7 separate regions of the Homo sapiens genome follow, and all the other regions are linked to region 5. Evidence: promoter capture Hi-C in 16 types of primary human blood cells and fetal thymus (Javierre and others, 2016). All regions are on one chromosome and are shown on one strand. Each heading gives the region's core, a stretch centred on a gene start or on the middle of the fragment in contact. The rest is flanking DNA. Distances are from core to core; before and after follow the strand shown.

Region 1 (3,327 bases), core at 689-3,188, 480 kb after region 5:
TAACTATAATGGGCAGCGTTTCCTCCCACCCTTCCTCCAGTGCCAACCTGCAATGAACAAGTAGCATGAGCAAGAAATAAAACTTGGCTGTTTTAAGCCACGAAAATTGTGGGCTTGTTACTGCAGCATAACCTGGTTTATTCTGCCTCATACAGCACTACAAGAATGTTGGACATTGTTACCATCACTGTCGTTCTTAACATTATCCTTCCTATTTTCTGTGACCATCTTGCTCAAAGCCTTTCTACCATGTTGTGATGATCTGTTCAGGTTCTACCTCCTCTTCCCATCCCTTACTGTGAGTTCTTTAAGCACAGGATCCATGTCTCTCTCTCTCTCTGTCTCTCTCTCTCCTTTTAAATTAGAGACAGGTTCTTTCTTTGTCACCCAGGCTGGAGTGCAGTGGTGTGATTGCTCATTGAAACCTCGAACTCCTGGGCTTAAGTGATCCTTCCACCTCAGCCTCCTGAGTAGCTGGTTCTATAGGAGGTGTGCACCACCACGCCTGGCTGGTTTTTTTTTTTTTTTTTTGGTTGTCGTTGTTGTTTTTGAGACAGGATCTCACTATGCTTCCCAGGCTGGTCTTGAACTCCTGGACTCAAGCAATCCTTCTGCCTTGGCCTTCCATAGTGTTGGGATACAGGCATGAGCCACTGTGCTCAGCCTCTTTTTGTCTCTGGAATCCTAAAACCCCATCATAGGGCCAGTCACAGACTTGATGGTCCATGCTCAGTAAGTGATTGTTTAAATGTCACTGGAGAAATCTGAGTTATAACTTCTTAAATGGCTTGGCTTTGATTTCAGCATTTTTAATTGTGCAAACAATATCATAGCAACAGCCATAAAAATAAAAGGCAAAAAAAAAGTCATTTGCAATTCCCCTAAAATTAAGGCCTTGTCCCATGCTTTTGTGTCTGTCTTCCCGAATGTATGTTTTGCAGTTGCATTTTCAGCCAGACGGCATTTTGTATCCTGTCTTTTTCTCCACTTCAAATACTACCAGGGCCAGGCATGATGGCTCACGCCTATAATCCCAGCACTTTGGGAGGCTGAGGTGGGGGAATCACTCGAGCCTAGGAGTTTGAGACCAGTCTGGGCAACACAGTGAGACCCCATCTCTAAAAATAATACTTTCAAGAGGACACATTTCTATCAAATACGTAAGACCTTTATTTTAGAGGCTGCGTATATTCCATGGGGTAGATGCACCCCTGATGGCTTAGAGGGGCTCTGACTTTTTGGACATTTGAATGTTTTCCAATTCTTTGCTGCTTCAGCCAACACTGCTGTGAATATCTGTTCATCAGGTGTTTTCACTGACCCCATACCTCTTCAGGAAGGATGGATCTCAAGACACTCTCAGAACTCCCACTTTGAATACAACATTCTAGTGTATCATGTCTCCTTCCCCCATCTCCCATGCTCAAGGAGAAAAATATTAGGGGGTCGTCTAAGTGCTGCTTCCATCACTAAAAGATTTAATCTTGTTATTAAAATAAGCTCTGTCACTTTTAAACTTTGCCTAAAGTTTTCCTTTTTATTTGATGAGTTATCTGCTCATATTTGGAGCCCTTTCTGAAACAGTCTCATGATTTGCTTTTCCCTGTTTCCATTTCAAGCGATGTGGACATAACATTGCTCAAGCCCAGGTTAACATCGGTTGTAGCTTTTAATTTATCCCATTGTTTACTTTCTTAAACTGCTTCTCTTTGTATTCCTTCTTGTATTCTCTTTGTTCCTACCAACAGCATTAGCAGTTGGCATTCTTTCTTGGGACTTTTTGTCATGGAGAAACAAGCTTTCAACTTTTCACGAGAATGGTCCTGTATAGGTAAATGAGTATTGAACAACCAAGACAGGTGGAGTCCTGGAGTTGGTGGGAGGTCCACTCTGCTCCCTCCAAACTGGGTGGCACAGGAGGCCTCTTTGTACCTCACTCAAATGGCAAATCAGCCACTTCATTGATCGCTCCAGTAGGAGGTGGTGTGTGGTGCCTCCCTGAAAGTTCAGAGCAGAGCATGTGTCTGGGAGGAAAGGTCAAAGCTCCTGTCCATGGCCCCTGTGCAACTGTGAGTGCCGTAAGCTTAGGGCCCACATCTGTCCTGCTGTGTGTTGCCAGGACCCAGCTCAGGGCCTGGCTTAGAGCAGATGCCCAGTGATTGATTGTTGAGTGAATCAGCGACTGATAGGAGAAGACTTCCAGGAAGAGCAGGCATCTGCACTGGGTCTTGTCAGGTGGAGTCTATGGAAGGGAGTGGGGAGGGAGGATGAAGACAGAAAGGGATTTCAGTAGGGCCTTGTTCAGCACATAGCACAGATTGTGTGTGTGTGTGTGCATGCGTGCACATGCGTGTGCATGGCTTGGCTTCAGTTCCACTTGGGGTTGGGTAGAGAAGTCATTCATTAATTCATTCAACAAATGTATTTAGCCCAACAAATGTTGGGAAAACCAACATTATCTCCTTTCAGTTCTCACCATGTGTCATGTACTGTGCCAGGGCACAGTTATTACAGGGCCTTCCTTGACAGTGAGAAGGGTCAGGCGTTGCCAAATCCAAGGTCATGAATATTTACTCCTATGTTTTCTTCTTAGAGTTTTATAGTTTTAGCTCTTACATTGAGGTCTTTGATCCATTTTCAGTTAATTTTTTTTGGGAGGGGGACGGAGTCTCGCTCTGTCACTGAGGCTGGAATGCAGTGGCACTATCTTGGCTCACTGCAACCTCTGCCTCCTGGGTTCCAGCGATTCTCCTGCCTCAGCCTCCCGAGTATCTGGGATTACAGGTGCCCACCACCATGCCCAGCTGATTTTTTTGTATTTTTAGTAGAGATAGGGCTTAACTATGTCGGCCAGGCTGATCTCGAACTCCTGACCTCAGGTGATCTGCCTGCCCCGGCCTCCCAAAGTGCTGGGATTACAGGTGTGAGCCACTGCACCCGGCCTAAATTTTTATATATAGTGTGAGGTAAGTGTCCGACTTCCCTCTTTTTTATGTAGATATCTAGTTGTCCCGGTACCATTTATTGAAAAGACTGTTCTTTCCCCATTGGATGGTATTGGCACCCTTATTAAAAATCAGTTGACCATAGATGTATAAGTTTACTTATAGATTCTCAATTCTCTTCCATTGATCTATATGTCTGTCCTTATACCAGGACCACACTGTCCTTGATTACTGTTGCTTGTAATAAGTTTTGAAGTCAGGAAGTGTGAGTCTACCTTCTTTCTTCTTTTCCAAGATTGTTTCAGCTGTCTGTGGTCCTTTGAAATTCTATATGAAGTTTAGAATCCCCTTGTCAATTTCTATAAAGAAGTTTTCCGGGATT
Region 2 (3,017 bases), core at 391-2,890, 410 kb after region 5:
GTTTTCCCTTTAGAGATCAGGAGAACATATCATTTGATATTTTGTAATCAGGAAAGGAGAAGTTGAGTATGTTTAGGATTTATTTAGAGATGGGGTCTCACTCTGTCACCCAGACTGGAGTGCAGTAGCACGGTCAGGGCTCACTGCAGCCTCGACCTCCTGGGCTCAAGCTATTCTCCTGCCTCAGTCACCTGAGTAGCTGGAATTACAGACATGTACCATCATGCTTGGTAATTTTTTGTATTTTTAGTAGAGACAGGGTTTTGCCATGTTGCCCAGGCTGGTCTCAAACTCCTGGACTCAAGTGATCTGCCCGCCTTGGCCTCCTAAAGTGCTAGGATTATGGGCATGAGCCACCACACCTGGCCAATTTAAATATATTTCTTTTTTTTTTTTTCTTGTTTGTTTCCATGCTAGTGAATACTATCTTATGGGGCATGGTGGGGAGGCAAGAATGAGGGTTAAAATAAATAGCCTTCTCCTTCCCTGCCTGTTTTAATGCTTGTAGAAATGGTGCGGGAAAGCCCGTTTAACCAGGGGAGGTTGAAGCATATATTCTGAAAGGAAATACAAGAAGGACTTCATGCTGGATTAAGGAAGTCACTTCTTAAATCAGTAGCTGTGGGCTGAAGCACTGATTACTCAACTCCTTTTTCTTGATGAGGTTCTCAGTACAGGTGCGAAGAGGGAGTGGTGAGAAAGGGTATACTAGAAACAGGTCTTAGAAACCTTAGTTCTTTGTATACTATCTCTGTAAGGCACGGTATAATGCATATTGAAGCATTTCTTTTTCAGGAAGATGAGTGTGCAGGCTGTACGGATGGAACCTTCAGAGGCACTCGGTATTTCACCTGTGCCCTGAAGAAGGCGCTGTTTGTGAAACTGAAGAGCTGCAGGCCTGACTCTAGGTTTGCATCATTGCAGCCGGTTTCCAATCAGATTGAGCGCTGTAACTCTTTAGGTATTTGGATGCTTTTTGTTTACTTAACAACCTGGAATGACTCTAATTCTAATCTCATATCATGTTATATTAGGTGATGGTGACAGTGTTTTAATATATTTCTTGCCAACGCTCATTAAGCTTTAAATCAGTAAAAATGTTGCATGGTGTATAAGAAAGTTGTTTTAAGAGGGGACATCTTAAAAAAGTATTAGGACGTGCGTTTGGGACTTATAAAGTGAATAATAGTGTGGTTTGTTTTTCTCTTCCTGTTGATGACAGACATTTAGTTTTCAGCAATACTAGTGGTAGAAATTGAAATGTAACCTTCTTTTTTTTTTTTACTGACTTCCCTCACAGTGTCTTGTTTACAGCAGTGAGTGTATCTTACAAAGAAATCAGCATTTTAGTGTAAGAAGTAGATTTCAACTGATTGCTGGAGGACAGCTCTCCTCATCATGTGTAATTGGTGGCAGTTTCCTGGTGCTGTTCCTTTCCACTTCTACATAATAGTGGAAAAGCATCTTGGGGCTTCAGCAGGTGCAAACAGGAAAGCCATCTTTATGAAAAACACTCTTATTATGTTGAAATAGTACTTTGGAATTTTCATTTTCTTTTCAAACTTGAAAGTGAAGCAACTTCAGATAAATAGTGAAATATTTGGGAAACATATTTTACTTGACAGATGCTTTTTACACATAATACTCTAAAGTGTGTTTTTAAATCTTGGAGGAAATGAAGTTGAAAATGAACAATAGCAATTTTTATAAGCCAAGTCAAATAGCAGTTAACCAAAGCCTACTTTCCACTTAAAGAAAAAATTTTGCATCAAAATACAAAAACATTTTAAAATGAAAAAATATTTATGGGAATACATATTGTAATAGTTTAAAAGAATTCTTTTCATTTACTTTTTTTAAAAAAATCTTTTCAGCATTTGGAGGCTACTTAAGTGAAGTAGTAGAAGAAAATACTCCACCAAAAATGGAAAAAGAAGGCTTGGAGATAATGATTGGGAAGAAGAAAGGCATCCAGGGTCATTACAATTCTTGTTACTTAGACTCAACCTTATTCTGGTAAGTTTAAAAAGAATGCAATAGGTATAGATAGTGCCATGAGGCAGGGACACATACCGGTGTGTGTGTGTGTGTGCGTGTGAGTGTGTGTGAAAGAAACTGCCATCTGCCTCTGAGTAGAGAAACTGGATGACTGTGGGTCAGGATTGAAAGGGAGATTTGCTTTTTATGACATACTCCTTTTAAGCTTTTGAATGTTGTCTCATGTTTCTGTGTCCAGAAAGGTGAATGATATTGGTACAATGGAATAGATATACAGAGGGTATCTGGGAAATCTTTGTGCATGTCTCAAACAACATAACTTGCAGTAAAGCCATTGGCTGTTATGTGCTGTATTTCTTTTAGTAGGTAAAGGCAGTCATAAAACTACTGTCTTTAAAAAAACGATTTTCAGTAGCAGCACTGCTGCCCTCATATATGCAATTTTTTCCAAAGTGGAACAACTTAAGATTTTTTTTTTTTTTTTTTTTTTTTTTGAGACAGAGTCTCACTCTGTCCCCCAGGCTGGAATGCAGCGGCACAATCTGGGCTCATTGCAACCTCTGCCTCCCAGGTTCAAGCGATTCTCTTGACTCAGCCTCCTGAGTAGCTGGGATTACAGGTGTGAACCACCACTTCTGGCTAACTTTCTTTTTTGTATTTTCAGTAGAGACGGGGGTTTCACCACGTTGGCCAGGCTGGTCTCGAACGTCTCACCTCAAATGATCTACCCGCCTTGGCCTCCCAAAGTGCTTGGGATTACGGGCATGAGCCACCACGCCCAGCCTTAACATTGCAAGGATCTTTAAGCTCTGGAAATTGAACCAAGAATCTTTAGGCTCTGAGGATTGTAGACTGGGCTAAATTGAGAGTAGCCTGCCAGTTCTGTAGCCATATGATAAGAATTAGGAAGTTAATATGGGATGTTAACATTTTTAAAGTAGGAAGAAGAATAAAGTGGCGGCCATTTTATTTGCAGAATACTTTGACAAAAACAAACCTTGTAGCATTGATATAATATT
Region 3 (3,035 bases), core at 53-2,552, 500 kb after region 5:
CTGTCAAAACAAAATACCATAAACTGGGTGGCTCAAACAACAGACATTGGCTGGGTGCCATGGCTCAGGCCTGTAAGGCCAGCACTTTGGGAGGCCAAGGTGAGTGGATCACCTGAGGTCAGGAGTTCAAGGCTAGCCTGGTCAACATGTTGAAACCCTGTCTCTACTAAAAATGCAAAAATTAGCCAGGCATGGTGGTGCACCTCTATAATCCCAGCTACTCAAGAAGCTGAGTGGGAGAATTGCTTGAACCTGGCAGGCAGAGGTTGCAGTGAGCCAAGATGGTGCCACTGCCTTCCAGCCTGGGCAACAGAGCAAGACTCCGTCAAACAAAAACAAAAACAAAAACAAGAAAACCTAGACATTTATTTCTCAGTTCTGGAGGCTGGTAACTGTATCACCAGATTTGGTTCTTGGTGAGGGCCCTCTTTCTGGCTTGCAAATGACTACCTTCTCTTTGTAGCTTCACATGGCAGAGAGAGGACACTGATATTTCTTCCTCTAAGAAGTGGTGGCAGTACTTATATGGGTACTAATCCCATCATAAGGGCTTCACCGTCCTGAGCTCATCTAAATCTAATTACCTCACAAAAGTCTCACCTCCTAATACTATCACATTGGGGGGTTGAAGCTTCAACATAGCCTCCTCCTCCTGAGGAGGAGACATAAATATTTAGTCAATAATAATAATGTAATCTAGAAATAAATGTAACTATTTCTTCTTGATATTTATGGCTTTCAATTAGTTTTCCTCTTCTTTAAAAAAAAATGTTTTTTAAGCCTACAGCACCCGGTATTCCCTTGAAGTCTCCCATCCAAGCACTAACCAGGCCTGACCCTGCTTAGGTTCATAAGATCAGATGAGATAGGGCATATTCATGGTGATATGGCTAATACACACACACACACACACACACACACACACACACACACACGATATTTTAGGACGAAAGATGTTGCTAAATAAATTCTTTTTCTTACCTCCATTGCACTGACAAAAATCCCCAATACATACTGAATAGAAATACTTAGAAGAGACATACTTGCCTTGTTCTCGATCTCTGCAAGGAAGTATTAAATATTTTGTCATAAGTATGATCCTTATTGTAGGTTTGTTTGTTTTTAGTTTCCTTTTATTACGTAGAGGAAAGTTTTCTTCTATTTCTAGTTTCTTGCTAGCTTTTGAGTGGGTGTTAAATTTGTTAAATGATTTTTATGAATCTATTAAGATGATCATATAGTTTTTCCTCTATTTTGTTAATGTGGTAAATTACATGGCTTGCCTTTCAAATATAAAATGAATCTTGCATGCAGAAATACATTTCATTTTGTTGACATAATGTATTATCCTTTTTATATATTGCTGTATTCTATTTGTTAATATTTTGTTAATGATTTGAACTTATGGATACGAGGGAGATTGTACATATTGTGCAATTTTCTTTTATTATAATATTGGCATCTAGATTTTTTGTGGTATCTTATCTTTTTATTGTGGTAAAATGAACATAACATAAAATTCACCATTTTAACTATCTTAAAGTGTACAATTCAGTGGCATTTAGAATTTGCATAATGTTTTGCAACCATCACCATGATCTAGTTCAAGATCATTTTCACCAACCCCAAAGAAAATCCTATATAACAACTCCTAATCCTTTTCTGCCTTTTGTCCTGTAGCAACCAGTAATATGTTTTCTGAACCTATGGATCTGTCTTTATATCCTAGATATTTCATACAAATGAATTATACAGTATATGGCTTTTGTGCCTAGTTCTCTCACTTAGCATCATAATGTTTAAGACATGTATCAATGTTGTAACTTGTATCAGGACTATATTACCTTTTGTGGTTGAGTAATATCCCATTATATGAATATCCCATATTTTGTTTATTTATTCATCAATTGATGAACATTTGGGTATTTTTACCTTTTGTCTATTGTGAATATTGCTACTATGAACATTTGTGTACAAGCTTTTGTTTGAAAACCTATTTCCAATTCTCTTGGGTATACACCTAGGAGTGGACGGGCTGGGTCAGACGGTAATTCGATGCTTAACTTATTGAAGAACTGCCAAACTGCTTTCCAAAGTGGCTGCACCATTTTACATTTCCACCAGCAGTTCATGAGGGCTTCACATTCTCCACATTCTCACCAAAACTTGTTATTTTCCATTTGTTTTATTATAGCCAACCTAGGGATAACTCATTGTAGTTTTGATTTGCATTTTGTTTATGATTAATGCCATTGAACATTATTTCATGTGCTTCTTGGGATTTTCTATATCTTCCTAAGAAAATGATTATTCAAGTCCTTTTCCCACATTTTGATTGAATTGTCTTTTGCTTGTTGAGTTATAAGATAATACATATTAGATACTATACTTAGCAGATATATTATTTGCAAATATTTTCTTTAATTTTTAAGATTTTTTATCGCTCTCTTGATAGTGTTCTTTGATGCAGAAAAGTTTCTAATTTTGATTAATTCCAATTTATCCATTTTTTTCTTTTGTTGCTTGTGTTTTCGGTATTATATCTAAAAAGCCATTGCCAAATTCAAAGTCATGAAGACTTAGCCTTACGTTTTCTTCTGAGAGTATTATTGTTTTAGCTTTTACATTTAGGTCTTTGATCTATTTTGAGGTAATTTTTGTATAACGTGTGAAGCAAGGGTCCAACTGAATTCTTTTGCTTGCAGATATGCAGTCATTCAGCATACTTGTTGAAAACTCTATGCTTTTTCCCATCGAATGATCTTGGTTGGCACCCTTGTCAAAACAATTGACCATAGATGTAGTGGTTTTATTTTCATGTTTTGATTATAGACCATTCTCAATTCTATTCTATTGACCTATACATGTATCCTATGGCAGTACCACTCTATTTTGATCTATGACTTTGTGGTGAGTTTTGAAAACAGGAAACATGAATATTACAAATGTATTATTCTTTTTCAGGATTTTCTGGTTATTCGGGGTTCCTTGCAATTCCACATGAATTTTAAGTCAGGTTTTTCGTTTTTTGCATA
Region 4 (2,893 bases), core at 389-2,888, 440 kb after region 5:
TCCCTGCACCAGTGATTACCACTATTTTGACTTCTGTCACTGTAGATCCCTGTTGCCAGGTTTTGAACTTATGTAAAGGGAGTCATAGATCGTGCACACTTCAGGTAGTGTCTGATGTCATGCTGTGTGCATCCTTCAGACTGTCTCTGTTGTGTATGTCAGTGATTCTACTTCATAGCTATGTGATGCTCTCTTACGTAAATATACAATCGTTTATTTATGGTTCTCATACTGATGGAAAGGGGCATTGCTGACAGTTTGGGGCTACTACACATGACCCTACTGTGATCCTTCTTGAATTGGTGGATTTTAGCTTTAGGAGAGACAGCTGCAGACTTTTCCAAAGTTTACACTCCTTCCTTCTTTCATTATTATTTTTTAACCAACTCCACTGAGGTGTAATTTACATACAGTAACATACACATATTTTAAGTAAGCAGTTAGATGAGTTTTGACACATTCATGAATTTATTTTTTATGAGACCAGGATCTCACTATGTTGCCCAAGCTAGTCTCGAACTCCTGGGCTCAAGCGATCCTCCTGCCTCAGCCTCCCAAGTATCTGGGACTACAGGCATGCACCACCATGCCCAGCCAATTTTAAAAATTTTTCGTAGAGAAGGTGATCTTGTTATGTTGCCCAGGCTGGTCTTGAATTCCTGACCTCAAGTGATCCTCCTGCCTGGGCATCCGGAAGCTCTATTACAGGCATGAGCCACCACTCTGGGATCTGACAAACTTTCTGTAGTGTTGAAGTTCAGTGACTTGGAGTAGTCACCTCCAGCTCAAGGTGCATGTGCCTGTGTGTTTTCTCCTTTTTTTGATAAAACCCAGGCTCAGCACAGGGTCGAGAAAAAGACTGAAAGTCAGCCCAGAAAGCAGTGTAGAAAGTAGAAAGCTAGTCTGGACTACCATTAGCATCAAGGACCTCAGTCACTGGAGCCATTGAGATGGGTCCACCCCTTCTCCCTCTCTTTCTCTCTCTCTCTTTTTCTTTCTTTAATTCATTAGCAAGAGGGTCTGTCTCACTATGTTGCCCAGGCTGGAAAACCTGGGCTCAAGCAACCCTCCCATCTCAGCCTCCCAGTCCCAGCTCAATCTTTCTTTTTAAAGTTGGAGAATTTTCTAAAGTTCTCCAACTTTAAAGGCTGCTGCCTAGGGAGGCAGGGCTGCACCCACGGGCAGAGTTAGAGGCAGAGCTGGAACAGAACCCCAGCATGGGAAGTCCGTGTTCACGGGGGGCCATTTCACCCTGGGACATTGTAGGGCAGCTCGAGGCTCTGACTAGGGAGGCCCAGCGCCTGGGGCTGGCGCTTGGTCCGAGCTCTGCAGGCTTTCCTGGGTGGAGAGGAGCCTCTTCCTGCCATGCACACCAGGCCTTCCTTAAGTGACTCAAACACCAATCTTCCTTGGGCTTCCTGAACTGTGAGGATTCCACAGTCTGGCAGGGCTGGTGGCCTCAGCCGTACACTCTGCAGCCAAGAGGGCTCTAGCTCCTGATTCCACCCTGTCCCTCAGCGGCTCCCCAGTGCTCTTCCAGGCCTTAGGCCTGCACCATCCCCACCTCTCCCTCCTCACCAACCTGCCACCTCCTGCCTCAGGTGGACACACTCAGGAGGAAGTCAAGCCTGTCCCTATACAAAAGCCATATTCCCAGGCACTTGCCTGAGTAGAGACGAAGTCTCAGCTCCTTCTACGTGAGCCCGAGGTGCCCACGGTCCCCACACCCCCTCCAGGAGTCCTTGCATTTGCGCAATGCTTTATACTCATCTGTCAGCTCGGCAGTGGGTCCCCCAGAGGGTGAAAACCACATTGTCCCTGTCTCATCAGCAACCAGAACAGGGGGCACCAACTGTGGCCTCCTCCCATATTTGTCGGGAGACTGAATGATTCTCAGGAAGCTGCGCGGCCACCGGCCATTTCACATGGGCATTTCCAAGCTGGGTGCTTTTTGCACCATGCTATTTTGGGCGGGAAGACTTTTCCAGTCCCTTTCTCCTTGGCATGCCACAGAAGAATTTCCTTCACCCACATCTGGATCATCTAGAATTACCCAGTTCAGCCTGTTGCTTTCAATGGCAAACGTCCAGTGCATGGTGTTGGCTCATTTTCATCCCCACTGTCTAGGAGCCCTTGAGCCTTGAGCTTTGGTTCACTATGGGCAGTCTCTTCCCTCCAGGCCTTGGCTAGAGCCAGGCAGGGACAGTGCCCACTCAGGGGCCGATCCACCTCGCTGGGGGCCACCAGTTCGAGCTGGGTGCTCTGTGAAACCAGTCATACCCAAGCTACTGGACTCTGGTCACTCCATGATCCTTGGCAAGATGTCTGTCTATGAACCGCAGTCCCTCTATCTGTAAAATGAAGGATCCTAGACTGGGACTCTCAAGCTCACTTGCCTACAGGGGCCAGGCAGGTACCTTAGGGAAGGGAGAAGGTTGGAGTGTTGGTGGAGAGCTGATATGGTAAAGGAAAGGAAGAAGCAGGCCAGTATATTCTGATTTTTTTTTTTTTTTTTGAGACGGAGTCTCGCTCTGCTGCCCAGGCTGGAGTGCAGTGGTGCGATCTCAGCTCACTGCAACCTCCACCTCCCGGGGTCAAGCAGTTCTCTGCCTCAGCCTCCTGCGTAGCAGTGAGTGCCACCATGCCTGGCTAATTTTTTTGTATTTTTAATAGAGACAGGGTTTCGCCATCTTAGCCAGGCTTGTCTTGAACTCCCGACCTCGTGATCCACCCGCCTCGGCCTCCCAAAGTGCTGGGATTACAGGCGTAAGCCACCGCACCTGGCCTATGTTCTGATTTTTCAGACGAAGTCAGAAATTTCTAAGAGAAGCAAAAGTTCCTGATCTGTACAAATCTGGCAACTTTTCTTTTTTTTAACTCTGTATGTGCCAGA
Region 5 (2,888 bases), core at 36-2,535:
ATTTATTTCAGAACAAACTTTAAACCCCAGTAGATCCCACTCGCTTCTGAAATGACTATTTTTGACAATCCTTGAACACTGAGGCTTTCTTGAGCATGACTTTTTACCCTGCCTAGATGGAAAAACCATTCTTTGAAGCAGCTCCTCAAAATTTGGACTTAGCTGCTTCCTCACCTGATGTGCGAGTACAATTGCCTAAGAGTATAATCCAAAAACGACTTGCTGAAACTCATAGATGATTCATGTCTCTATTCTGTCCTGCTCCTCCTCAAACGAGCCAGATCTTAGAGGCGTTTGTTTTCCCCAGATACAAAGAAAATAAAATGAGGTTGGCACCTGGAAGAGGCAGTGCCGTCCGCAAAGCCAAAGCAATGTAACCACTTGTACCTTAACTCTTCTCCGTTTTCTCCCCTTTTCTTCCCCTGGAATCTGCTTCTCTCCTTTCTTTCTCTTTTTCCGCTTTCTGTCCTTGTGTTTGTCATGATCGTTTTTGTCTTCGAAGAGGCTGGAGTCGTGCCCCGAGCTGCCCGTGGAGAGTTCGGTGACTTCGTTCCCTCCTACTTTGAGGACCAGCTTCAAGGGCTTCTCTACATACTCTTAAAAAAAGAAAAGAAAAGAAAGGAAAGCGCGTCGATTAAAATCGGGGCTCTCCAGGGAGTGCTAAGGATGCAGAGCGCCAAGGCGCAGCAAGCCCGAGGCGGCTTTGGGCGCTCCGCGAAGCACCTGTTGAATGACGGACCCCGGCCCGGGGGTGCGGCGGCGCCGCCCGCCCCGAACGCTCCCAGGCCTCCCGGGCCCGCCTCACGTCTCCCCACCAGAGACCCACCGGACCAGGGGGACCCGGGTTCGAATGCCGCGGCCGCACGGGGGGCAGCGCGGCCTCCGGCAGGACGCGCCCCCTTCGCCGGCCTGGGCCTGCCGTGGGAAGGAAGGGCCCCGGGCCGCCCCGGAGCCACTGGGAAAGAGCGGAAGCCCGGCAGAGCCGCCGAGGGCCCGCCGCCCGCACCCCGGCCCCCTCCTCACCCTCGTAGAGGTGTTTGTCCGACTTGTGCTTCTTGTGCTTCTTGCCCATGTCCGACCGGGCCCCGGTGCCCGCCCCCCGCGCCAGGCCCAGGCCGTGCGGCGCCGCTTCCGGTCCGGGCCAGGCGAGCGGAGGGCGGGAGCGGGGCCCGCGAGACCCCGCGCCGCGAGGCAGGGGGGCGGCGCGCGCCGGGCGGCGCGATGCCCCTCTCGAGAAGACGGCGCGCGAGACCCGGCCGGAGCCCGAGAGCGGCGGCGGGGGGGGCGCGCGGCCGGCGCAGAGGCGGGAAAGAAGGCCCGCCGCGCGCACAGGGTGCCGGCGGCTGCGGGTGGCGGCCCCTGGCGACCGGAGGTGGTGCTGCAGCTCGCGGGCCGGGGGCGGGGCCGAGGGCGGGGCCGGGGCGGGATCCACCGCTCAGACTCTCGTCTTTCTTCCTTCCTCCCTTTCCCCTCAATTTGTCTGTCTTGTCTCTGTCTCTGTGTGTCTCTCCCTCCGTCTCCACTTCCCTCCCTTCTTTTTACTCCCTCCCTCTCTTTCTTTCTCTTTCCCTTCTTCCCTTCCTTCCTCCTTCCTTCCTTTCTTTCTTCCCTCCTTACTGCCTCCCTTCAAGCCTTCCTTCTCTCTTTTCTTCCTCCCTCATCACCCTTCCTTCTCCTCTTCCCGTCTCCTTCCCTCTTTTTTTCTTTTCTTTTTTTCCCCTTCCTCCTTCCCCCACTCTTCCTTTCTTTCCACTTTCCCTTGCTTCTGTTTCTTCCCTTTTACGATATTGACTGAACCCCATACTGGGTGCCAGACCCAGCAAACTCAGCACATTGGTGACTGAAGATTCTAATCTTAAAAAAAACTTATGTGCTGATAGGTGAAGGTTACCAGACGTTTTGACTGTCTTTACTTCTAGCTGTATGGTGCTTTGTCTGTTTTCAGATAAGCTCGTAATTATAGTCTCCTCTTAAGAAAGGATCTGTTATCAGTCATTTATACTTTAGTAACAATTTAGACCCATGAATCACCTCTCCCAGGAAGATTTGTAGCTTTACCTTGAACTTCAGTGGTGAAATTATAGGCTTATATTTTAGGACCCTATTGTTGGCAACTAATAGAAACCAATTTGAATTATTTCAAGTAAATAAAAAGGGATTTATTGGTTTACATGTCTAGAAAGGGCAAGAATAAAGCTTGCCAGAGGGAAGACAGGAACCAAGGATGTAATGCTGTTGACTGGCATGCCAGCTCGCTCTCTCTCTTGTCTCTCTGTATATCGGTCTCCATCTCCCCCCTTCTTTCCTATATGGCTGGAAACATGGCCACCATCTGCTTCTGAGGCCTCTTCTTTATAGTGTCCTGACCAACTGGGAAAAAGATCTCTTCCTGTCAGCTTCACCTGGAAAACAGTCCCAGGGAAGGACTCTGATTGGCTTGGCTTGTGTCACATGTTTTATGGGACAGGGGATGGGAGATTGATTCGGCCTGGATGCCAAATCTACCCCCTCACCCCCTTGGCCAAGAGAAGTGGAGTCTGTGATTGGCAGCTCCTGCCAGACTTCTATGGTTAGCCAGGGAAGATGAGGTTCTTCTAATGAAGAGAGTTGCTTTTTCATGAAAGCTAAAAGTGTGTGTCTATTATTTCCCTGTAACAAGCCTCTCTGGTGTCCGTGAGGCAGAGATCAGGGTGTGGGAAGAGGGGTTGTGTTGGGGAAGAGACCTTCTGCTGCTCTGAAATCAAGCCAGCTAGGCCCCCTAGGCCCCCTAAGCATAGGGCAAAGCTTGGTTTCAGCTTTTCATCCACTGTCTGTAACTTATTTTGCTTTAAGAACCACTATGCCAACTCCCACTGTGGGTCTGGCCTCTATTGTGGCATTGCCTTGCT
Region 6 (2,971 bases), core at 166-2,665, 400 kb before region 5:
GAATCAGCCACATTTCCCCCGTAATCCCTCAATGCTGTTAAATATGCATTGAAATTATTTTTCAATATTTCATAAAATATTCATAATTTCATAACTGAAAAATATGAAAATATTTTTTCAAATATTTTGCGGATGTATTTTCCCCTCTAAGTGTACCCCCAAAAGCCAAAAAGCAAATACCAGATCACCCAGCGCAATCTATAGTCACTAAAGCCTGTGTCTATCTGCAGGTAAATGTCGCTCCATAGTCTGCTCTGCTCTTATTTTAGTGTTTTATAAATTTCTAGGATTTTCTGCCCTTTCCATTTGTTTCCTCTTGCCCATGGAGATGAAAAGTGCTATATGGAGCCACTGATCTTTGTTATAGATTAGATAGAAAGATAGCTAGAGCTATATATTCACACTTTAAGGTGTTTAGTCCAAAGGGTTTGAGATAATTTTATCAGAAGCGTTCATCTTTAAAATTGGGGATGCTCCTCTTGGAAGGTCTTCATTGGATATGGATATGAGTAAAGAATGAGTGAACAAGATCTGCTCCCTTTACTTATAAACGCTCCACAGCGCCTGTGAGCAGGCTATTTTCCCTTGCTAAAGACATGCAAAATAGTGCACAGATGCTGGGTCATCTATCAGCTGTCTAAATAGTCCCTTTTGCTGTGATTTAACAGAAGAAAGGGAGAAGTAGATGTACGCTGTACCCTAAATCAGGCATTTTTACTGTGGCTCCCCAGGATCCAGACACCAATGTTTCTGTCCACAAGGAATGTCCTGACAGGGACTGAACCACGCTGGCGGGCAGCAATTAGCTGTTATCTAGCAAGAGGCGTCAGGCTGCACGGCGAGGCGGCCCCGAAGTGCACTCCGCAAACCATGACTACTCAGCAAGCTGCCTGCGAGCGTTCGTCCCTGTGCTTCCCCCCTTTCCGATGTTTATTCGGGTTGCTGTCCACAGCCAGCCTCCCAACAGACATTTCCAAGCAAAGCTCTTGCCTGAGTCCATGCCTCCCGCTACTGCCCTGAGAATCCTGAGCTGCACACAATGCTTCCCTCTCCGGAGCAGGCTTCATTTGTCTATTTGTCTTTGACCAACACCGGCCATTGATTCTAGAGGCCGTTCTGTAAGCCAACTGCTTTTCCTAACCCTTGCTGCCTTTTGTTCTTGCTGGCTTTCCCTCACACTTTCTACACTTTCTTTTGTTGTTATCATTGTTGTTTTTAGAGACAGGCTCTTGCTCTGTTGCCCACAGCCTGGGCACGATCAGTAGCGCGATCCTGACTCACTGTAGCCCAGAACTCCTGGGCTCAAGGGATCCTCCCACCTTAGCCTCCCAAGCAGGTGGGAGTATGGGTGCACGCCACCATACCTAGCTAATCTTTTTATTTTTTGTAGAGATGGGGTCTCACTAAGTTGCCCAGGCTGGTCTCAAACTCCTGGCTTCAAGTGATCCACCCACTTCAGTCTTCCAAAGTGGTAGGATTACAGGCATGAGCTACCATACCTGGCCATAGACACTTTCTTTTAATGAAGTGGTAGGTAAACACCACCACCACCAAACAATTAGAGGTGACTGTGAGGAGCCTGGGAAGCCAGTACCTGGTCATCCAGGGAAGGCAGCCTAATGTTGACAATGCAATTGGGTTTGAATCTCAGCTCTGTCGCTTACAAGCTGAGTAGCCTTGATTAAGTTACTTGACATCATCATGACTATTTCCTCACCTGTAACACGGGGATTATTAATCGACCCTACCTCTTAGTGCTATTATGAGATTGAATGAACTAATACAGGCAATATCCTCAGAATGGTGCCTGATGCAGTGTGGGCCCTGAGTCAGTGTTGGCCATTGTGATCCATCTCTGCCTTTAGGTTTCTTTCAGGTCAAGGCTAAGAAGATCTCCTTCAGAAGACCACCCAACAGTGCAGGTATTCCAGGTCTCATCTTCAGGAAATGTTACTGAGAAGAACTAACCTCCATGAACAGTCACTCCTGAATTCTACACTTCCAAGTGCTTCCGCAGTCGAGGAAAGCATTTTTCAATTCTGAATTATTAATCTAATCTGACACAAATCTCATCTTTAATGCAAGTGAGAGAGAGGCCCTGTCAAGGTTCATATATATAAAAATCAATTCAAATACAGTTCAAGGAAAACTGTTTTTACCAAAACTACAGAGAAAGATTTAAGGCAAGAATCTTAAACTGCCATGTTGATTTACCCATGTAGTTACTTAGAGGAACTTCACTGCTGAATATAAAAGCCAGAGTAAACAAAATAAAGTCGCCTTCAAAAGTGATTTATATACTCGAGGCCAGGTGTGGTGGCTCATGCCTATAATCCCAGCACTCTGGGAGGCCGAGGCAGGCAGATCACTTGAGGTCAGGAATTCAAACCAGCCTGGCCAATATGGTGAAACCCTGTCTCTACTAAAATACAAAAATTAGCCAAGTGTGGTGGTGCATGCCTGTAGTCCCAGCTACTCAAGAGTCTGAGGCAGGAGAATAGCTTGAACCTGGGAGGAGGAAGTTGCAGTGAGCCGAGATCGCACCCCTGCATTCCAGCCTGGGCAATAGACTGAGACTCCGTCTCAACTTAAAAAAGAGAAAAAAAAGTGATTTACATACTCGAGAATGCTACGCAGTGGTTACAAACAATGAGGATGAAGACTCCTTCATGATACACAGTTAAGTGAAAGAAACAAGTCCAGGACAATATGCCAGGGCCAGCCATTTCAGTTAAAAAAAAAAAGGGTGGGGGGAAATGGGAGAGTGGGAGAGTTCTGAAAAGGGATTTTTATTTTATCTTTTTATTTTTTGTAGAGACAGGGTCTCACTATGTTGCCCAGACTGGTCTCAGACACCTAGCTTTTGATCTTCCCTTTTTCATTTTTGTTAAGACCCTTTTCGTTCAAGGGTCTGCTATGGATAACCCACTTTTTATTATTACATGCTCTTATAGATCTATCCATTCCTGGG
Region 7 (3,237 bases), core at 332-2,831, 460 kb after region 5:
TCTCCATCAGAGGTCTGACTTTGGTGTAGAAAACTTGCCTAGGCTTAGAATTAGAATTTAAATTTCCTTAAAGTTGCAACTCTTATCCTTAAGTCCTTTCCTCATATCCTTAAGGCCAGGGCCTGGGAGCCAGCTGTCTGCCTCCCCAGCTGTGGGAGATGAGAGTTTCTATAATGCTGGCAATGGGGCTCTCAGACCCTCATGTTTTGCTTCACATTGTGATTGATGGCCCTGAGTCTGTCTTTTCCTCTTCTTAAGGCATGATTGGCATTCACTGGTGGGCACCCAATTCTACAGTCTTTATAAGAACTCTTTTTCCCATACCTCTCAAACATCAAAGCTCTTGCACAGGGCAGTGCACCTTTTCCACCTGTATCCCATGCCCTGGGTGTATTACAGGTAGAATCTTAGCAACAATCACTGCCTGCCATTTACCACTGTACACTAAGCACCGGTGATGGGGCTATGATTTCTAGCCATCTAGGGACTTCAGAATCCTATCCTTCTCATCTATTTCCTAGGATCACTCCTGGTGCCAAATATATTAGCTTGGGTTCCCTAAAAGCAGAGCTTGAGAAAGGAATTCAAGGAGCACATGATTAATCAGGGGAGTTTTTCAGGAAAATCCTGTAAGGGAGGGAATTAGGCACAATAAGACAAGGGAGAGAGCAGAACAAGGAAGCAAACCTCAAGCAAAGCCCAGTCTTGGTCTGAGCCATGGTGATAAGAGCCCTGAAGCTCTGAATCACATTGATCAGTCAGTCATTAGCTGTGGGCTGCCCTTGCTGTGTGTTGGGGTCCAACTTCCAGGTCATGGTCCCTGTCATGAGCTGAAGGCAATTCTCCAGGGAAGGGTGCAGCTGGTGCAAACTCACTGGAGTCCAGAAAGGCGATCTGGGAGGGGAAAAACAGCATCCTACAGACCCCAGGTAATTCATAGCCTCCATAATTCACAAGTTCTTTCTCCATGAGGTGGTAAGTGGCAATTTTATATTCTTGGAATGCCACATACCTATAATGATAGTAATTTTTTTCAGCAATGTTTCTGACATTTTTACAGAGCATGCACTTCTAAATTAGTGACACACCATGGTGATGTTTGGCCTTCTTCAGAATAACTTTATCCTTTCCCTTCTCTGGCCCAGAGCTATTGATTTTTAGGTGGTTATTTTATTTTATTCTTTTTTTTTTTTTTGAGACGGAGTGTCTCTCTGTCACCCAGGCTGGAGTGCAGTGGCACAATCTTGGCTCACTGCAACCTCTGCCTCCTGGGTTCAAGCGATTCTCCTACCTCAGCCTCCCGAATAGCTGAGATTACAGGTGTGTGCCACCACACCTGGCTAATTTTTTGTACTTTTAGTAGAGACAGGGTTCCACTGTGTTAGCCAGGATGGTCTCCATCTCCTGACCTTGTGATCCACCCACCTCGGCATCCCAAAGTGCTGGGAGCCACTGCGCCTGGCCTATTTTATTCCTTTTCTTAGCACAAACTCTAGCACAACCACGACCCTTGAATCAATGCTTGGATAATGTTCCTAGAAGATTACAAAATATTTTGAATCACAAGATCAGTTAATGTTAAAGATAATATGCACTAGTCACCAAAGATACTGTTGGAAGTTGTGATAGGGGAACAATAGCATGGGTCACACAATAATGACAAAGGACAGCACGTCCTTCTTTTCACCAGCTAGAGGCATTGCCATGTTGCACTTGGAAATGCAGTTTCAACTCACCAGCCTACCAGTTTGAAAGTTATGGAATTCTTGATGAGTTGCCAAGTTATGCAATTCTTGATGAGTTGTCAATCCCCCCATTTGGGAGGATTTCACATTTTGTATGTAACATGAGGACATTATTATTTTTATATTACGTAGTTTCAAAATCACATCATTCAAATGCACATGTGGTGTTGTGTTCTAATACTTTTCTGGATTTGTCTTTTACATTTAGCTTCTTAATCCAGTAGGAACTTACTTTTATATATGATGTGAGGTAGGGATCCAACGTTTTCTTTCTGTTTTCCAATGGAACTCCAGATGTCACAATCTCATGTATCGGAAACACCATAATTTTCTTGATTTTTCCTATAAATAGCCTTCCATTCTAGACTTTCTATTCTGCTTCTTTGATTTCTTTGCCTGGTCTTATCAGCTTCATGTTCTTGTATCCACTTAATGGTCTCTTTTAAAATTTGGTAGAATATGCAAACACTTGTTTTTCTTTTTCAAATTTTTCTTGTCTATTCTCTTGAATTTTCTTTTTCAAATGAATTTTAGTGTCGACTTGCCCAGTTTCATAAAAAATCCTGTAGGGATAGTGGTTGGGATGGTATTGAATTTATAGTTTAATTTGAGGGGATTTGACATTTTTACAATATTGAGTGTTTCCATCCAGGTGTTTGGTTATGCCTTTCCATTTATTCAGGTCTTCTTTTATGTCCCACAGTAAATTTTTATAGTTTTCTTCACATAGGTCCTGAACGTTTCTTGGTAGGTTTATTCCTAGGTATTTTATATATATTTTTTGTTTTCATTGTGAATGAGACTAGAGGGTTTCTGGGATTGTACTTACATCATAACAGGATTGTTTATGCGTGGAGAAAAAGAAATGTTTCTTGCTCCTGAATGAAGGTGCCTGTACCTCACTGTGGCAAATCAGTGGATAAAACTGATTGCAGATGCGGGTTCCCTTTTTTTACTGTGCAATCCTTCAGTTTTGACCTGGACCTGGAGCTAAATGCTGCTGCAGTCTCCTGTTTGGGTATGGGGGTGGGTGTCGGCTCCATTGGTTCCAATGAAAACCAATTCTGAACACAGTTATTTTGCTAATTTCTCTGCCAATCGCTCCACCCCCTCCTCTTTGTATTTGTTTACTCTGAACCCAAGTACCCTGGATCTTCTCTTACTTCCTCAGTAGCTCTGGCCATAGTGGTTGGCTGTGGTTTCCGCCAATCCTGCCAACCCAGTCCCATCTGCTTTCCATCTTCCAGGAATTGCAGACAAGTTCTTGTTTTTCCACATGTGGTTATAGATTCATTTTGTCTTTTAAATATGGCTTTTCTTTTGAGGAATTGGGGCAGGAGGACAGGTAGCTGGCTAGGCCTGTGTTGTCCTCCTGAGTCTATCATCTTGTGTACTCATTTTTCTTAAGTCAGGAGAGTCTTAGCCATGTTTCCATGGTGATGTGGTGGCCAGTAGGGGAAAAGGGAGGTTGAAGATGCAGAGAAGAGGTGAC

What was found. Contacts are between HindIII fragments. The CHiCAGO score rates a contact against its expected background, and 5 or more counts as called.
Region 1: a fragment that was not itself captured here is called in contact with the fragment with the promoter of BRD7 in region 5 in 3 of 17 cell types (non-activated CD4 T cells, activated CD4 T cells and total CD4 T cells); the score reaches 8.3 in non-activated CD4 T cells.
Region 2: a fragment that was not itself captured here is called in contact with the fragment with the promoter of BRD7 in region 5 in 17 of 17 cell types (non-activated CD4 T cells, naive CD8 T cells, total CD4 T cells and 14 more); the score reaches 40.0 in non-activated CD4 T cells.
Region 3: a contact is called between a fragment that was not itself captured here and the fragment with the promoter of BRD7 in region 5, in 1 of 17 cell types (total CD4 T cells). The highest score is 5.9, in total CD4 T cells.
Region 4: a fragment that was not itself captured here is called in contact with the fragment with the promoter of BRD7 in region 5 in 16 of 17 cell types (total CD4 T cells, non-activated CD4 T cells, total CD8 T cells and 13 more); the score reaches 43.2 in total CD4 T cells.
Region 6: a fragment that was not itself captured here is called in contact with the fragment with the promoter of BRD7 in region 5 in 5 of 17 cell types (neutrophils, monocytes, erythroblasts and 2 more); the score reaches 9.8 in neutrophils.
Region 7: a fragment that was not itself captured here is called in contact with the fragment with the promoter of BRD7 in region 5 in 10 of 17 cell types (non-activated CD4 T cells, total CD4 T cells, activated CD4 T cells and 7 more); the score reaches 20.0 in non-activated CD4 T cells.

Annotation. Positions count from the first base shown.
Region 1 is chr16:50,847,329-50,850,655 of GRCh38, forward strand. The region is part of intron 1 of LINC02128 (long intergenic non-protein coding RNA 2128); the gene reads left to right. Among named protein-coding and RNA genes, the nearest start is that of LINC02128, 8.9 kb to the left of the region's middle. The HindIII fragment of the contact is 285 bases long and covers 1,797-2,081 here.
Region 2 is chr16:50,780,451-50,783,467 of GRCh38, forward strand. It overlaps CYLD (CYLD lysine 63 deubiquitinase), which reads left to right. Exons shown (of 19, transcript NM_001378743.1): 10 at 796-961; 11 at 1,875-2,016. Among named protein-coding and RNA genes, the nearest start is that of CYLD-AS2, 21 kb to the right of the region's middle. The HindIII fragment of the contact is 1,122 bases long and covers 1,080-2,201 here.
Region 3 is chr16:50,868,677-50,871,711 of GRCh38, forward strand. All of the region lies in intron 1 of LINC02128 (long intergenic non-protein coding RNA 2128), which reads left to right. It also overlaps the pseudogene RNA5SP426. Among named protein-coding and RNA genes, the nearest start is that of LINC02128, 30 kb to the left of the region's middle. The HindIII fragment of the contact is 1,347 bases long and covers 630-1,976 here.
Region 4 is chr16:50,810,999-50,813,891 of GRCh38, forward strand. No RefSeq gene overlaps it. Among named protein-coding and RNA genes, the nearest start is that of LINC02168, 5.8 kb to the left of the region's middle. The HindIII fragment of the contact is 5,044 bases long and covers 1-2,893 here.
Region 5 is chr16:50,367,703-50,370,590 of GRCh38, forward strand. BRD7 (bromodomain containing 7) reads right to left here and starts at 1,286. Exons shown (of 17, transcript NM_013263.5): 1 at 1,024-1,286; 2 at 388-596. The coding sequence starts at 1,072. RefSeq lists silencers at 675-1,184, 1,215-1,464. The HindIII fragment of the contact is 8,339 bases long and covers 1-2,194 here.
Region 6 is chr16:49,968,696-49,971,666 of GRCh38, forward strand. It overlaps the pseudogene NCOA5LP. Among named protein-coding and RNA genes, the nearest start is that of CNEP1R1, 55 kb to the right of the region's middle. The HindIII fragment of the contact is 3,968 bases long and covers 1-2,971 here.
Region 7 is chr16:50,831,159-50,834,395 of GRCh38, forward strand. No RefSeq gene overlaps it. Among named protein-coding and RNA genes, the nearest start is that of LINC02128, 7.3 kb to the right of the region's middle. The HindIII fragment of the contact is 4,131 bases long and covers 1-3,237 here.